Linked DNA regions of Homo sapiens: region 2 is linked to region 1. Evidence: promoter capture Hi-C in human tissues and cell types (Jung and others, 2019). All regions are on one chromosome and are shown on one strand. The core of a region is centred on a gene start or on the middle of the fragment in contact, and the rest is flanking DNA. Distances in the headings are between cores, read along the strand shown. Region 1 holds the start of TSPAN13 (tetraspanin 13). Region 2 overlaps CRPPA (CDP-L-ribitol pyrophosphorylase A).

Region 1 (4,051 bases), core at 1,152-3,651:
GCACATTTTCAGCATCTATCTAAGACTTGATCCAACTTTTACCTGTCACTTGCCTCCACTTTAAACTGCTGCAGTTATTTAAGCCTATTTACAATGTAAAAGAAGCAAGCAGCCACTAATTCATTTTAAGAAATGTCCCTTTGTCTAAAAAGTCTATGATTTAAAAGGGCTAGCCATTTTTATTGTCCCGTGAATTTCCAATTCATTAAGTTTTACTGCATAGCTATTAAAATCAATAGAACACACACTTTGAAGGTCAATAATTTAGAATAGATATTAAATAGTCTTAATATGTCCCTTTAGAATCACCTTTCTTTCGCCTCACTTTCCTGATATACTCTAAATACAACTAAAAATGATGTCTAGAAAGCAAGGAACTTCATTTTAAAATAACTTGCCTTTTTAAAAAAGATTATACATTGATATAGACCCTTCAGTGAAGTAAGTATGCAAAGTAGACATTCCACTCTGTGTAAGCAGGCACTGTAAGACTAAGTGTCTGGCAAACAGATGACTAAATCATTGGCAGAAAAAAAACAGAACTCAGGTCACAAAATAAGGAATTTAAAGTTCCAAGCAGGCCACTCACACTGATTTAAAAAAAAAAAAAAAAACCCTAGAGAACTGGTCAGCATTTACTTAATAAACAGCCAGGGTGATAAGCATACCTCAGGGTGATACAGATGAATTTTGATCTGAAACTTGACATGTATCTCCAAGGAACTGTATCACCAGGTGTTCTAAAATTTTTTTCCCAAGTCTACTATTAATGACCATGTTGACCAGATTCTTACTAACTAGCCATAAAAGCGTACTCAATGCCTGTTTCTGTCTTGCCTTCAAAGCTTGCAGTCATGTTCACATACAAAGGAACAGTAAAGGTAAAATGACCCAACCTCCTTCTCCTGTTGGTGACCACAAGGCAGCCTCTCTATTCCAAGGAGGTAATCTAAGCTTGCACAGATGGCCTAGCTCTCTGCTAATGCAGGGGTGCTGGGTTTGTTTTCAGGGTGGGTGCTGCAAAGCGCCAGGTATATTTATAGAAGGGAGCAAGACTACTATGGAGGGATGATGACAGAAGAGGAAGTTTCTTCCGCCCGGTAGAGACAGCCTGTGGAAAGATCTGGATTCCACAGCCTAGGTTCCACTCCTGACTCGTCAACTACCAGCTATGTAAACTTACTAAAACCTTTTTGGTCTGTTACCTTATGTATAAAATGCAGATAATGCCCCATTCCCTCAGAAGGTTGTCAGAATGATGAACGAGCATTGTGTATGTAAAACCTGGGACGTGATAGGCATTCAATAAATGTCGATCTGTCCTGCCCATCCTCCTGTTCACCCAGAATTGCGCCTCAAAAAATCACAAAGAGAGCCTGCAGCGTTAAAACTAAGAGGCCCAAGCTGGTTGGCAGGGAAAGAAACGACTTGGGTGGGGGCTCGCTTATTTCCTGGAGGACTTGGTTTAAAATGGAGTTAGGATATTGATCATGGACAAGACACACAGAAAAAGCACCAAGTACTAGCAAAACTGACAACAACAAAAACAAAAAGACATCCCTTTACTGTGAGCACGAAACAAACTTCGGAAGCAGCGGACATCCTGTGAACCTACTCAGTGGCCTCAATTAAAATCCCGAGGGTACCAAGAGCTAACCCAGAGGCACACCAGCCATATGCCGCCTCGTCAGTTTCAGGCCACGCCATTCCGCAAAACTGTCCGCAAGCCCTGACGGCTCTCGCGCCTCCACGCCTGGCCCAGATGCGTCTGGATGTCAGGAGCGAGCGGCAGAAGGGTACGGGGTGGGAAAGCGGAGAGGTCCGGTTGAATGTTTGAAAAACAAGGCGGTGGGTGAGGGGGCGGGGTGGAGCAATGTGGCAGAGACGCGGCCAGCGAGCCTGAGAGACCGCGGCTTCACAATGAACGAAAGGAAGAGACTGCGACAAGCGCCGGCGCCCGGTCCCCGGCGGGGACGGATGGTGAGGCCGGGGGCGCGCAGACGTGGGAAGCCGGGAAGGGGGCGCGGGATGCAACGAGTGAGTCGCTGACCAGGCAGGGAAGCCAAAGAGCTCCCAAGCAGGTGCAAAGCCCCCAAGCGAGCAGGAACGGACTGGGGATACTCACGGTGTAAAGCAGGTTGAGGGCGCACAGGCAGTTCTTGGAACACGCGAAGCCCCCGCAAACCATCTTGGAACCTGTGGTTGCCGGCAGCTGCACGTAAATTCGACTCCGGCGGAGGTTCCCTGACAGCTGCTTTGTCCTTGCCTTTGGGGCCTGGCCCAGGCGGGGCAGCAACGCAGACGTGGGTGGGGGGCCGGGGCCTGGGGCTGCAGTGCGCGGCGCGCGCGCGGCGGCGGCTCGGACCCGCTTTGGAACCTGCGGCCGCCGCAGCTGAGCCGGAGCAGGAGCCCGAGCCCCGCCCAGCCCCTTCGTCTCGCCCCGCGCGCTGATTGGCCGCTGGCAGGGAACAAAGGTAGAAATATGCAAATAAATGCGCTCCGCCGACCGGGATCCGGGAGGGGCGGAGCGGTCCCGGGGCGAGGGGGAGAGGGCCAAGGCCGTGTGGGAGGGAGCCCCAGGCCAGAGCGGCGGCCTTGGTGTAGTTTCCCCAGGAGCAGGTGAGGAGGGAGGGCGGGGCTCGGAGGAGATCCACGCTGGCAAGGAGAAATATGACAGCACCTCTGGATTCTTGGCCCTGGCAGATGACGTGGCACCATTTTGAATGAGATTTCAAAACTAAGCACCTGGCCTTGTTTGAGGGAAGGAAGGCAGGAAGCAAGTAATGAATGAAAACATGTGAAAGATTTAAAAGAGAACGAAGTAGAGGCAAATGAAAGGGAGAAAATAAGTGAAACAATAAAAAATAAAATAAAATCCCTGCTTCTCTCAGAAAATAAGATATGTGCCCTATAATTGTGACCTGGACAGGTCAGACTTATCCTACAAAGATTTGCAAAATACTAATAAACTTTATGAATACATGCATGCAAAGGAAAATCAAGAGCGGGAGAAGGTGGGGATGGTTAATAGGTCCAAAAAAATAGAAAGAATGAATAAGACCTACTATTTGATAGCACAATAAAGTGACAATCGTTAATAAGAACTTAATTGTGTATTTTAAAATAACTTAAAGAATGTAATTGGATTGTTTGTAACTCAAAGGATAAATGTTTCAGAGGATGGATACCCTATTCTCCGTGATGTGCTTATTTCACATTGCATGCCTGTATCAAAACATCTCATGTACCCCGTAAATATATACATCTGCTACGTGTCAACAAAAGTTTTTTAAAAAATTTTAAAAAGAAAATCAAGAGAGATTATTTTTGTGTTCTGGTCGTGAATTTCAATAAACTTATTTTTTCACAAAAATAACTGAAAATCTTCAAATAACTCAGACTTCACCTCAATTAATTCATTATCAGTTTACTGCTTCTCTACTATAGAAATGCATCTTGTATCCTTAATTCCTCACCTATAAATTGAGATTTTAGAAGTATGTCAAGCACTTTTTGCATAGTGGCTGGCACAGGGGAAGGCCTCAATAAATGTCAGCTAGTATTCATAGATCTGACATTTTGTAAAGGCCTACTGTGTTCCAGGCACTAAGCGAAGGCAATAAAGGTTTATTTACTTCATAGTAGTTTCTACCAAAGAAAAAGGTTTTATAAAGAGATTTGCAAGTTTACAATACTATATCTAACCTAAAGGTTCATACGGAGTAAATTATGTAATTGCAAATGCTAAATTGTATTAAATTAAATTAAACATTGCAGCTGATTAAAATAATTCGTCTTCTTAGAATTCTCTGCTCCCTCTTCCAGCCTCTCCTTCCCTCCCCTGACCCCACCATACCAACAAGACCTCATTAATTTGTTAGGCTTTCTATTCCACATTAACCTTTTATATACAGCTAGAAATATTTCAAAAACTAACCTGGAAAATGATCCTCAAACACAAACAATGCTTTGATGATGCTCAACTTTCCTTTTTAATAGCCAGAGGTTTACAAAAGATGAGGCATTGGCAGGGAAATCTATTCATTCTCTT
Region 2 (3,933 bases), core at 116-2,615, 480 kb after region 1:
GTTCAATATGTGATGACCTTTTGACAACGTACATAATTCTCATCAAAAGTAGAGGGTAAAAGTTGATTTTAGCTGTGTAATTTTTTTTTTTTTTTTTTTTTTTTGAGATGGAGTCTCACTCTGTTGCCAAGCTGGAGTATAGTGGTGTGATCTCAGCTCACTGCAACCTCCACCTTCTGGGTTCAAGTGATTCTCCTGCCTCAGCCTCCACCATGCCCATTAGCTGTGTAATTTTATCATGATAGCACAGTTGGAAAGAGAACAGGCTCTGTTATCAGACTGCTTGCACTTTGGATGTTAGCTCTGTTTCCTAATTTCCTTATCTGTAAATTGAAACTGTTAATAACATCTATGTTCTAAAGTTGCTGGGTGAGTTGAATAAAATGAATATATTTAAAGTGCTTAGAGAAGCATCTGGCATGCAGTACGTTTTCAATGCATTTGAACTATAATTAAACTTTCAGTGATAAGTTGGCAGAGTGGTGTGACAGTATTAGATAGTACAGACTGTTAGTTCCCATACTTCAGTGCTGTACTGGATACATGAGTTGTTAAAATTAACAAATTAACCAGTGTCTTCTACCTCCTCCTTTCTAAAGAATCTAATTTGAATTAGTATGCTTTAATTTAAAGTTTATAGCTGAAAGATGACAGTGAACTTTCTTACTGTATATATTCTTACATTCATGTCATTACCTACTATCTCCCTTAAACAATTGTTTATTCTTAGTCATATAAGTAAATATATATGTGATAGCCACTACAATCCTTATGTTGATACCTTAAAAATCATTTTGGTTTTCTGGAACTAATCCTCCAATAGATGCTCTAGTGAGGGCTCATGGGCACAGTATTCCCAAGTTCTTCGATGTGAATAAAATTATTCTTTTGCTCAAAATCTTCAAGGTGGTTTTGGCTAGATTAAAAGCAATCTTAATTCAGTAATTTTTTGTTGAGTATCTTCAATATGCCAGTCTATTTTCTTTTGTCATAAAGTGTTTTGGTCAAGTGTGATGAAAATCTGACTTTCTTTGTCTTATAAGTGATTTAGTCTATTTGCCTGGATGCTCAAATAATTCTTTTCCTTTAAAGTCCATTTGTTTTACTACAGTTTTCTTAATTATAGTCATTTTGGCTGATATTGCTAGGTACATAGTGGATGCTTCTGTGTAGTTTCGAATCTTTTTATTTGACATTATTTCTTTAGTTTTTTTCTGTTTGGTTACTTCAGTTTTCTTCAGAGATTCCTGTTGGATGAAGCTTACATGTTCTTTGGCCATCCACAGCTATTACATTCTCCTGAGTTTTTCTAATCTCTTAATTTCTTTTTAATTTTCTTACTTCCCGTCTTTTATTTCTGTTCAGTCATTACCTTTTGTGTTTTTTCTAATTTAGTCTTCATTTCTGAAATATTTTTTAAATTTTCTCGCCTTGTTTCTAAGTTATTCCAAGTCTGACTTTTATAGTTCTGTCATTTTCTTAATTTCTTTTAGCTTATTAAATATTGGGTTACAGTCTTCATTTATTTTATGACTGGGTCTTTCTGATGTGCATGGGTTTCTGTAGGTACATTATTTTGCTGTTTAGTCTTTTTTTTTCTTTCTTTCTGTCATTCATATATATATATTTTTTGTTTGTTTTTGTTTTTGTTTTTTTCCGAGACAGGGTCTTGGTACTATCATGGCTCATTGCAGCCTTGGCCTTGGCCTGCTGGGCTCAAGCGATCCTCCCATCTCATCTTCCTGAGTAGCTGGGACCACAGGCACACACTGCAATGCCCAGCTAATTTTTTTTTTCCTTTTTGTAGAGACAGGAGTCTCCACATGTTGCCCAGGCTGGTCTCAAACTCCTGGCCTCAAGTGATCCTCTCACGTTGGCCTCCCAAAGGGCGGAAATACAGGCATGACCATTGCACCTAGCCCTATTGTTCCTTTTTAAGTAGAAGAGTTTTATCTAGTTTTAGGAGGAAGGGATGAGTCAAAATAACACCTCCGTGGCCGTCCTTTGCCTGTACTTTCTCTTTCCTTTATTCCTAGTGCACCTCCCTTGGTCCATCTAGACTTCTCAGGCTGGTGCTTTAACATACTACGGTGCTTCTGTTTATTGGTTTTGAATGTGCTTTGGACCCAGACCCCCAGTTATCCCTAGCAGAGAACGTTCATGTGGCTTCCTTGTTTTCAACTTTGAATTAAAGCCTACAAAGGCTTCTCCTAGTTTCTGTTGCTATTCCCAGAATGGAATGGCCTGCTAAGGTATCCAGAAAGTATCTGATGATGATTTTGTTGTTTTCTGTCTTTCTTGGTTTACTCCCATTTTTTTCTACAGTTTCTTAAACTGTGTGTGTCTTTATATGTGCTGCCAATTTATCCCTACCCACTAATATTATTTTTTTTTAGACACTGTCTCACTCAGTTGCCCAGGCTGGAGTGCAGTGGCATGGTCTCAGCTCACCACAACCTACGCCTCCCAGGTTCAAATGATTCTCGTGCCTCAGCCTCCCAAATATTGGTTTTATAGTAGATAATGTCTATAGGTTTTTGGCTTTGATATCCTCCTTGCTTTTTCTGTTTTTATGAAGGGTCTGCAGAGATTCAAAGACTAAAATCATATTTCTAGGTTTCCAGAATCTTTCTCCCCTTTATTGTTCGTGTGCTCTCCTGGCCATTTATAATTTTTAAAGATCACTTAAATTTCTCTTTTAATTTCAAGTATCTAATTCGTCTATAAATATAGACAGACATAGCAAATTTGGAATTTTTAAAAAATTAGGTTTGGCTTGAAGTTAGGGATTTCCTTCATATAATAAAACTAAGAAGTATTCATATATTCAAAAGTAAGAAAATCACCATTCCTCAAAAATTTCTTAATTTAATATCTTCCTTTTTGGAGATAAATTAGACTTTTTATTTTTTTTTAATGAGGAGCTAATGTAGAACTTCTAAAACTGAACTTTGGGTGTCCTGTTATTTTACTCAGAGAATCTTGGTTCACCTTGAAAGGAGATATCGTTCCTGCTAAGCCTTCCCTGACTTCTAAATTTGGTTAAAAAGAATTAAAAGTTTAAAAACCTGTTATGCCACACAAACTTAAGAGAATGCTTTCTCTTAGAAACAGCCACAACAGGCCGGGTGTGGTGGCTCACGTCCGTAATCCCAGCAATTTGGGATCCGAGGTGGGCGGATCACGAAGTCAGGAGATCGAGACCATCCTGGCTAACACGGTGAAACCTGTCTCTACTAAAAATACAAAAAATTAGCTGGGCGTGGTGGTGGGCATCTGTAGTCCCAGCTACTCGGGAGGCTGAGGCAGGAGAATGTCGTGAACCCGGGAGGCAGAGGTTGCAGTGAGCCGAGATCGCGCCGCTGCACTCCAGCCTGGGCGACAGAGCGAGACTCCGTCTCAAAAACAAAACAAAACAAAAACAAAAACAAAAACAGCCACAACACTGATTATGGAGTGTCAGGAGTAGTACTGAAATGGGCAGTTCCCCTGGCCCCTTCGCAGGACTGGCTAAGGGGTTGGCTCATTTAATCAGCCCACAGCTCTCCACCTCTCATGGGACAGGGAGCATGCAGGTGAGCAGGTACAGAGGCCAGGACAAGTCCTTCTGGGCGCGATGGCAGGAATAGAACTTCATGCAGCTCCATGGCTACATCTAGCAGGGTATCCATGACCCCTGAAGCCCCAGAGGACGTGTGTTACATTGTGCTCTTTTACCTTTGCTGTCTACAAACAGCTTAAGTGTTTAACAGCTCAGTGGAGGGTAGGATGACAACCTTTTGCACCAGCCCTCTTGGTACCAGAGTTCTTGTTCGGTGTCCGGGAGGAATCAGGCTGCATCAGTTAATTGAAGGGTGGTGAATGTGGAGGATTTACTGACGAGTGGAAGTGGCTTTCAGTGGGATGCGGTGCTGGAAAGGGGATGGAGTGGAA

What was found. Contacts are between HindIII fragments. The study calls those that stand out against the background at their distance.
Region 2: a contact is called between a fragment that was not itself captured here and the fragment with the promoter of TSPAN13 in region 1, in 1 of the 25 tissues and cell types used here (mesendoderm cells).

What each region holds. Positions count from the first base shown.
Region 1 is chr7:16,752,105-16,756,155 of GRCh38, reverse strand. TSPAN13 (tetraspanin 13) reads right to left here and starts at 2,401. Exons shown (of 6, transcript NM_014399.4): 1 at 2,126-2,401. The coding sequence starts at 2,188. The HindIII fragment of the contact is 15,712 bases long and covers 159-4,051 here.
Region 2 is chr7:16,273,536-16,277,468 of GRCh38, reverse strand. All of the region lies in intron 6 of CRPPA (CDP-L-ribitol pyrophosphorylase A), which reads left to right. Among named protein-coding and RNA genes, the nearest start is that of CRPPA-AS1, 65 kb to the right of the region's middle. The HindIII fragment of the contact is 3,442 bases long and covers 1-3,086 here.